Linked DNA regions of Homo sapiens: region 2 is linked to region 1. Evidence: promoter capture Hi-C in human tissues and cell types (Jung and others, 2019). All regions are on one chromosome and are shown on one strand. The core of a region is centred on a gene start or on the middle of the fragment in contact, and the rest is flanking DNA. Distances in the headings are between cores, read along the strand shown.

Region 1 (4,781 bases), core at 721-3,220:
CAGTGGCTCACACCTGTAATTCTAACATTTTGAGAGGCTAAGGCGGGCAGATCACTTGAGGCCTGGAGTTCGAGACCAGCCTGGCCAACCAACATAGCAAAACCCGACCTCTACTAAAAATATAAAAAGTAGCTGGGCATGGTGGTGCACTTCTGAAATCCCAGCTACTAGGGAGGGAGGCTTAGGCAGGAGAATCGCTTGAACCTGGGACATGGAGATAGCAGTGAGCCGAGATTGCGCCACTGCACTTCAACCTGGGCAACGGAGCAAGACTCTGTCTCAATAAATAAATAAATAGGCCAGGCACGGTGGCTCATGCCTGTAATCCCAGCACTTTGGGAGGCCAAGGCATGTGGATCACGAGGTCAAGAGATCAAGACCATCCCGGCCAGCAAGGTGAAACCCTGTCTCTACTGAAAATACAAAAATTAGGTGGGCGTGGTGGTGGGTGCCTCTAATCCCAGCTACTCGGGAGGCTGGGCAGGAGAATCGCTTGAACCCAGGAGGCAGAGGTTGCACTGAGCCAAGATGGTGCCACTTCACTCAAACGTGGGCGACAGAGTGAGACTCTATCTCAATCAATCAATCAATAAAGGATGGAGGAAGATGAACCAAAGGCAAATAAAACTCTGAAGGCAGTGCTATCTAAAAATAAAAATAAAAAAATAAAATAAAATAAAAGGAAAGGAAAACCAGCCAGGAAAGATGCAGTGCAAACCACAGGAGGGACTTTCAATGAGAAGGCTGTCAAATAAAAATGTCCTTGAAGACCTCAGCAAAAGCTACTTCAGGGAAGTAGTGGGTTGAGGATAGAAGGAAAGAAAGTGGAGGTGGCAAATGTAGCATCCTTGCAAGAAAATTGACTGAGAAAGGAAAAGGGGAGGGAGTGATGGAGGTGGAAGTGGGGAGATGAGGATGAAAGAACGAATTCCAAGACAGGAGAGATGACAGGGTATTTCTATGCTGAGGACGGAATGAGGGCAGTGAAACAGAAATGGATGCAAGTTCTCAAGGAAGGTAGGGGCCGGGGAGGAGAGGCAGGGCTCATAAAGAGGGATTGGCCTTGGAGAGAGGAGGAAAACTGCTCACCTGAAAAGGCAGTCAAGGGGTGGAAGGACCCCTGCATACAAATTTGTAGGTGTTACTGAAGAGTCGGTACACAGGCTCAGTGCTTCTAAATTATGTTTCTCTGTTTTGGTTTGGGTGATGAGTTGTTGATATGATAAAGTGATTTGTTGCACTGACTCTGGAGCCAGAGTGCCTGTGGTTGAAATCCCACCTCCACCACTTAATACCTGCTTGATCTTAGTTAAGTTACGTAATCTCTCTGTGCTTCATCCTCCTTATCTGTAAAAGGGACTAGGGGATAGAGAAGGCTGTCACATAGTGATATGGAAGTGGTTTTCTTTCCTTCCTTCCTTCTCTCTCTCTCTCTTTCTTTCTTTCTGTCTTTTTAAAATTTTTATAGAGACAAGGTCTGCCTATGTTGCTCAGGCTGGTCTCGAACGCCTGGCCTCAAGCAATCCTCCCACCTCAGCCTCCCAAAGTGCTAAGATTATAGGCGTGAGCCACCGCGCCCAGCCATGTTTACTATTTCCACTAGATTGTCATCTCCATGAGGTTGAGGTTTTCTATTTTGTTTAGGGCTGTCTACTCAGAGCCTGGCACAAAGCATGTGCTCAACGAAAATTTCCTGAATGAGTAAATTGGGGTGAAATTCTTGGGAGAGGGGCTCAGGGGGCTGGAATCCCTATTCCTGCGTGGGACTCCGGGCCACTGGGCGGCGTCCTGGGGTCTGGGGAAGGGCCTCCCCCTGCGCCGAGAGCGTGCCCGGGCGGGCGCGGTCCAGGCGCTGAGCCCCTGGGGCGCTCCCGTGGCTCCTCCCCCGGCGGGCGTGTAGTGTCGGCCCAGCGACTGCGGGAGGCATCCCGGAGCCGGCCGGGCGGGGCGGAGTCGACGCTCGGCCCGGCCTCTGCTCACCTCATCCACGGGAGACGGAAGTCTTGGCCCTGCTCCGCTCCCCCGAGAATCGGGCCTCGCCCTGCTGGGCGGCTGGACCTGGGCAAAGCCTGGGCGCGCTCCCGCGCAGCGGCGCCATGAAGCGCTCGGGGACTCTGCGGCTGCTCTCGGACCTGAGCGCCTTCGGCGGCGCGGCGCGGCTCCGGGAGCTGGTGGCCGGGGACTCAGCGGTCCGAGTCCGTGGCAGTCCGGACGGCCGCCACTTGCTGCTCCTGCGACCCCCTGGGGCGGTAGCCCCACAGCTGCTAGTCGCGTCGCGAGGGCCCGGCGCGGAGCTAGAGCGGGCCTGGCCGGCCGGCCAGCCCTCCCCGCTGGACGCCTTCTTCCTGCCGTGGCCAGCGCGGCCGGCGCTGGTGCTGGTGTGGGAGAGTGGCCTGGCCGAGGTGTGGGGCGCGGGCGTGGGGCCTGGCTGGCGGCCGCTGCAGAGCACCGAGCTGTGTCCGGGCGGGGGAGCCCGCGTTGTGGCAGTGGCGGCGCTCCGAGGCCGCCTGGTGTGGTGCGAGGAGCGGCAGGCCCGGGCCGAGGGCCCGTCAGGGTCGCCAGCAGCCGCTTTCAGCCACTGTGTGTGCGTCCGGACTCTGGAGCCCAGCGGGGAAGCTAGCACCAGCCTGGGCCGCACACACGTCCTGCTGCACCACTGCCCTGCCTTCGGGCTGCTGGCCTCCTGCAGACAACTCTTCCTGGTGCCCACTGCCACCACCTGGCCTGGCGTGGCCCACGTTCTACTCATCTGGAGCCCAGGCAAGGGCAAAGTGATGGTGGCTGCCCCACGGCTTGGTCTCTCCTACAGTAAGAGTCTGAATCCTGGACGAGGGGACACATGGGACTTCCGGACCCTGCTCCGAGGCCTTCCTGGGTTGCTGTCCCCCAGGGAGCCACTGGCTGTACACACCTGGGCCCCAACTCCCCAGGGCCTGCTGTTGCTTGACTTCGGGGGCACTGTGAGCCTATTGCAGTCCCACGGTGGTACGCGGGCTGTGGGCACCCTGCAGGAGGCACCTGTAGGCCCGTGGGGGTCTGCAGCCCTAGGCACATTTCAGGGCACTCTGGCCTGTGTGCTGGGCTCCACATTGGAACTGCTGGACATGGGCAGTGGGCAGCTGCTGGAGAGGAAGGTCCTAAGTACAGACAGGGTACATCTGCTAGAACCGCCAGCCCCCGGCATGGAGGATGAGGAAGAGCTGGAGACCCGAGGGAATCTTCGTCTGCTTTCAGCCTTGGGTCTGTTTTGTGTGGGCTGGGAAGCCCCACAGGGTGTTGAGTTGCCTTCAGCCAAGGATCTGGTGTTTGAGGAGGCCTGCGGGTACTACCAGCGGCGGAGCCTGCGGGGTGCCCAGCTCACTCCAGAAGAACTGAGACACAGCAGCACATTCCGGGCACCTCAGGCTCTGGCCTCCATCCTCCAGGGCCACCTGCCCCCATCTGCACTGCTGACCATGTTGAGGACCGAGCTTCGGGATTACCGAGGCTTAGAACAGCTGAAGGCCCAGCTGGTGGCTGGGGATGATGAGGAGGCTGGTTGGACTGAGCTGGCGGAGCAGGAAGTGGCACGCCTGCTGAGGACTGAGTTGATAGGAGACCAGCTAGCCCAGCTCAACACCGTTTTCCAAGCCCTTCCTACAGCAGCCTGGGGTGCCACCCTCAGGGCCCTGCAGCTCCAGCTAGATGGGAATGGCAAGCTGAGGTCCCAAGCACCCCCTGATGTGTGGAAGAAAGTGTTAGGGGGAATAACCGCTGGAAAGGAACCCCCCAATGGAATACTGCCCCCCTTTGAACTCCTGTGCCAGTGTCTGTGCCAGCTGGAGCCTCGATGGCTGCCACCCTTTGTGGAGCTGGCACAGCAGCAGGGCGGGCCGGGCTGGGGGGCAGGGGGCCCAGGACTGCCCCTGTATCGCCGAGCTCTGGCAGTGCTAGGTGAGGAGGGGACCAGGCCTGAGGCTCTGGAGCTAGAGCTGCTCTTGAGCAGTGGGCGGCCTAAAGCTGTGCTCCAAGCTGTCGGGCAGCTGGTGCAAAAGGAACAATGGGATCGGGCTCTGGATGCTGGCCTGGCCCTCGGCCCCTCCAGTCCCCTGCTTCGAAGTGAAATCTTCAAACTGCTGCTGGCCGAGTTTGCCCAGCACCGCCGGCTTGATGCTCACCTCCCCCTCCTTTGCCGCCTGTGCCCACCAGAACTGGCTCCAGCTGAGCTCCTGCTTCTACTGAGGACATACCTCCCAGATGAGGTGGGGCCCCCAACCCCATTCCCTGAGCCTGGAGCAGAGCCCCCTCTCACTGTGGGCTTGCTCAAAGCCCTGCTGGAGCAGACTGGGGCTCAAGGATGGCTGTCGGGCCCAGTTCTAAGCCCATATGAGGACATCCTATGGGACCCCAGCACTCCACCCCCGACTCCACCTCGGGACCTATGACTACCCTTCAGGCATCAGAACACTCAGGGCCTGGAGGCTTGCTTGGGACTGGAGGCTTGCTTGGACAGTTCCTCTGTGTCACTGACACAGGAAATCATTTCTAGGACACAGTGATCAGGGAAGGGTGCCTGGGACTTGGAGGGTCCCATGTATGGACCTGTGTATGCAATACTGTTCTGTCATCTGGAGCTATTTTTAAGATGTGTGTGTTAAATATATACATAGTTTAATATATACACAGTTGTGTGTTTTTAAACAGGTACAGGTCTCAGAGGATGCAGGTTATAGAGGGAGTGGTTGGATCTGGATCTTTTGGCTAAAGTCCCCACTTCCAATCATGAAAATAGTTAACATTTA
Region 2 (4,513 bases), core at 1,236-3,735, 140 kb before region 1:
CTGCACATGGTTTTAAAATAATTTATTTTTTAAGTACCCTAGATATAGAATGGAAAAGAGAAAGGAATTAGGGACCTAAACTATGCCTGTTTATACACTTTGTGGCTAGACCTTATAAAAGTTATAACTAGTAGCCAGTATTTTATAATTCAATGGCTACATTTCCTAGGAAGAGTTCCTTTGGGGAAAAAAATTAACCTTTTCTCAGGTGAAAACAAAATTTTTTTTCCTACCTTGGAATTAATAATAATTAGGGAGTAGCACAACCCTAAAGGATCAGGGATAGTTATGCCAGCCAAAGCAGCCCATCTCCAGAGAGCCAGAGGCTCGGGAGAGCTGGCCGGGAAAGAACAAACGCCCAGGAATGATAGGGTTTGGATTGGTATATAGACTCTAGCCCCTTCTCATCCCTATGACCCCATTATAGAATGAGTCCACTGGAAATACCTTTCTTCTACACTGCTTCTCATTCACTCTCCCCCTCTCAATCTCTCTCTTCCCATAATTTTGATGCTTACCTAAAGAAATTGGAAATAACATATGGTAGGTCCTGCTAATTAAAAGCTTAGCAGAATAAAAGGCATATGTCAGATGGCTCACTTCAGACACCCATAAAAAGTTAAAGCTAAGACTAAAAATTAAAGTTAATTTATCATACTATAAAATTATAGGTAGGAGATCCAATCAATTACTAATGGCACAAGTGCAAACCCAAGGCCTCTGCTGTCTAAATACATATTTACAGAAATAATAAAGTGAGACAGTGGACCTAAAGAGAAGGAGAGAATGTACTCTCCTGCCATCAGGGGGCCATTTACTTACCTACCTGGGACCAAGAGCTATAATATTCTGCAGCAAACTGCCAATCATCCATTTCTTCTCCAATGTTCTTGGCAATTTCATCTGTAACTGTCTGCTCAGAACACAGCCCTTTAAATTTACCTCAAGGTCCATACTCTGAGTTACCACTAGACATCAGGAAGCAGCTACTCCATTATCACTGTCTTAGTCACACAGGCAGTCCTTCCCAGCCACCTCCAAAAGGCTCAAGTAAGTATTTGGCATAATTCATTAAGAAAGAGGATGAACACTAAGTTTCAGCCTATAATCCCAGCACTTTGGGAGGCTGAGGCAGGAGGACTGCTTGAGCCCAGGAGTTCAAGACCAACCTGGCTGGGCAACATAGTGAGATCCTGTCACTACAAAAAGAAAAAGAAAAAGAAGAGCTGGATGCAGTGGCTCACGCCTATAATCCCAGCACTTTGGAGGGCCAGGGCAGGTGGGTCACTTGAGGTCAGGAGTTCAAGACCAGCCTGGCCAACATAGTGAAACCCCATCTCTACCAACAATACAAAAAACTAGCCGGGTGTGGTGGCACATCCCTGTAACCTCAGCTACTCAGGAGGCTGAGGCACGAGAATCACTTGAGCCTGGGAGGCAGAGGTCGCAGTGAGCCAAGACTGCGTCACTGCACTCCCGCCTGGGCAGAGCGAGACTGTCTCAAAAATAAAATAAAATAAGAAAGAGAAAATGTCAGTGTAGTTAACCAACAAAAAGGAATGTTTAATCATTTGCCAAAACAATAGTTAAAGTAAGGTCACCAGATACATACAAGATCTCTCCCAACTAACTCACAAATATAATGAAAGGTTCTTATAAGGTTCCTCAGGTTGGCTGTTCACGTTCTTATAAAATCTGAGACTTTACACAGGGTGAGGCCCCATATCTACAAGGCTTCAAATGATACTCTCAGAGAATGCACCTGGAACCACTAAAGAGATCTTTTTCATAGTCAGGTAGCTTGATTCAGGACAGAGGGCTGAGCTCAAGATTGACTCCCTTTCTCCTGGGAGCAATATTCTAGAAATAGTTCCTAATTTGAGCCAATAAAAACGGGCCACAATCGGCAGGCCCTACCTTAGTGGGAGAAAACGAGATACAAAAGACAGGGCACAAGCCAGGCACAGTGGCACATGCTTATGGTCCCAGGTACTTGGAAGGCTAAGGCAGGAGGATCACTTGAGCCCCAGAGTTTGAGGCCGCAATGAGCTATGATTATGCCACTGCACTCCAGCCTGGGCAAGAGAGAGAGGCCTTGTCTCTCGAAGTACAACAAACAAACAAAAAATACAATACAATAAGATATTTTGTTGTTGTTGTTGTTTGTTTTTGTTTTTGTTTGAGGCAGAGTTTCGCTCTTGTTGTCCAGGCTGGAGTGCAATGGTGCGATCTCGGCTCACTGCAACCTCCATCTCCCGGATTCAAGCCATTCTCCTGCCTCAGCCTCCCGAGGAGCTGGGATTACAAGCACCCACCACCATGCCCGGCTAATTTTCGTATTTTTAGTAGAGACAGGGTTTCATCATGTTGGCCAGGCTGGTCTCAAACTCCTGACCTCAGGTGATCCACCGGCCTCAGCCTCCCAAAGTGCTGGGATTATAGGCATGAGCCACCACACCTGGCCAATAAAATAAATTTTTAAAAAGAGCACAGTACAAGAATGTCTTCTACAAACCATAAAGGAACTAGACTCTAGTTCTAAAGACTCCAGACATAAAGGAACACACCTAACAACTCCTTCTTTGACTACATTATCTAAGTACTGTGTCCTTTCAAAATTATATTATTCCTGTTACTTTTGTACTTGTACTTTGTTATAAAGCTCAATATGCAGACCTTAAGAGCCAATGAGCACTGAATGCTCACATTTTGAGTAAAGGAAAAGAAATAGCTGTGGGCTATTAGCTCACCAAGGAATAAAGCAGGATCTAAAATGCTGTGTTTAACACCTACATGTGAGAAAATCTCCCACAAAGGAAATGTATGTATCTAAAATCTAAATACAGACTTTTTCCCCACTATCATCTAGTCCTTGCTCCAGAAATGATAAAGTGGACAAAATTAGAGTCCTGTTTCTAGTGAGTCCTCACTTTCTCAGGAAAGAGTGTCCTCTGCAAATAAAGTTTATTGAAGTGGGTGTTGTGTGTGTATGTTATTTACAGTTGCATAGGAGTAACATTTCTATATTTCACTGGAATTAATTTAGTATAAATCTGAAGCTAATTCCGATAAATTAAGATATGTATGGTAAGCCCTAGAGCAAGCACTAAAGAAATAACGCAAAAAATAGTGAAAAAAAATTAAAGCAATAAAAACGCTTTTTAGAAAATATTCACTTAATGCAAAAGAAAGCAGTAAAGAAGGATCAGAGGAACAAAAAATGAGATAGCAATACCTCTTTGGTCTGCAGATATTGCATATGGACATAAAACATAGGCTGAATATCCCTTATCCAAAATGCTTGGGACCAGAAGAGTTTTAGGTTTCAGATTTTTTTTTTAAATTTTGGATATTTGCATTATACTTACCAGTTGAGCATCCCTAATCCAGAAATCTGAAACACAAATTGTTCCAATGAGCATTTCCCTTAAACATCATGTTGGTACTCAAAAAGTTTCAGATTTTAAAGCATTTCAGATTTCAGATTTTCAGATCTGAGATGCTCATCCTGTACTAGCAAACTGAGTCCTGCAAAATATAAAAATTATACACCATGACCAAGTAGGATTTATCCCAGGAATGCAAGGTTTAACATCTGAAAATCAATTAATGTAGTACGTTTTATCAATAGAATAAGAAATAGAAACCACAAAATCATCTCAATAGAAGCAAAAAAAGCATTTGACAAAATCCAACACCCTTTGATGATAAAAACAGCCAACAAACTAAGAACAGAAAGGACTTTCTTCAACCTGATAAAGAGTATCTACAAAAAAAGTTCACAGCTAAATGTTTTAATAAATTAAAATACAAGAAAGAAAACTTATTAGGTTGGTGCAAAAGTAATAGCAGTTTTGCCATTACTTTTGCACCAACCTATAAAACCACCTATAATCCTGCCAACCAGAGATAAGAACATGTTGGTTAATAGCCTCTCAGGTATACGTGTATTCATTTTGGAGACATTCTTTTACCACAATGATATAGCCAAGGTTGCATGGTCAGACATCTCCTCAAAGGACTGAAAGTGATAGAAAACACAAACTCTTCCCACCCAAACTATTTTCCCATCAATGATGCAAAGGCTCAGGCTGACAGCCTAAGTTCCAGTATTGCCCCTGATGTCAGCTTGTAAATAAATATTATTTTGTGTCTCTGGTCCCTACTAAGCCCAGATGAGTACAGAAAAAGGACTGAACAAAGTTGGGTATGGAAGGGGCTGATAAGATTCCCAGACTTGCACAATCAGGACAACAAATTTTTAAAAATAATAATAATAAACATGTATATAGCACTGAATATGTGCCAGGCACTATTCTACATGCTTTATATATATTGTCATTTAGTAATCTCAATAATGACATAGGTCCATTGTTATCCTCACTTTATAGCTGAGAAAACTCAAGGAAAGAATGGTTAAATAACTTGTCCAAAGTAATGGTACAGCAAGGACTCAAACTCAGACAACCTGACTCTAGAGTCCCCACTCTTAACCACTACATTATGCTATCTC

The links. Contacts are between HindIII fragments. The study calls those that stand out against the background at their distance.
Region 2: a contact is called between a fragment that was not itself captured here and the fragment with the promoter of HPS6 in region 1, in 1 of the 25 tissues and cell types used here (mesendoderm cells).

Annotation. Positions count from the first base shown.
Region 1 is chr10:102,063,379-102,068,159 of GRCh38, forward strand. HPS6 (HPS6 biogenesis of lysosomal organelles complex 2 subunit 3) reads left to right here and starts at 1,971. Exons shown (of 1, transcript NM_024747.6): 1 at 1,971-4,658. The coding sequence starts at 2,097. The coding sequence ends at 4,424. RefSeq lists an enhancer at 1,463-1,512 and a silencer at 1,723-2,392. The HindIII fragment of the contact is 30,919 bases long and covers 1-4,781 here.
Region 2 is chr10:101,926,567-101,931,079 of GRCh38, forward strand. All of the region lies in intron 23 of ARMH3 (armadillo like helical domain containing 3), which reads right to left. Among named protein-coding and RNA genes, the nearest start is that of KCNIP2, 85 kb to the left of the region's middle. The HindIII fragment of the contact is 7,411 bases long and covers 1-4,513 here.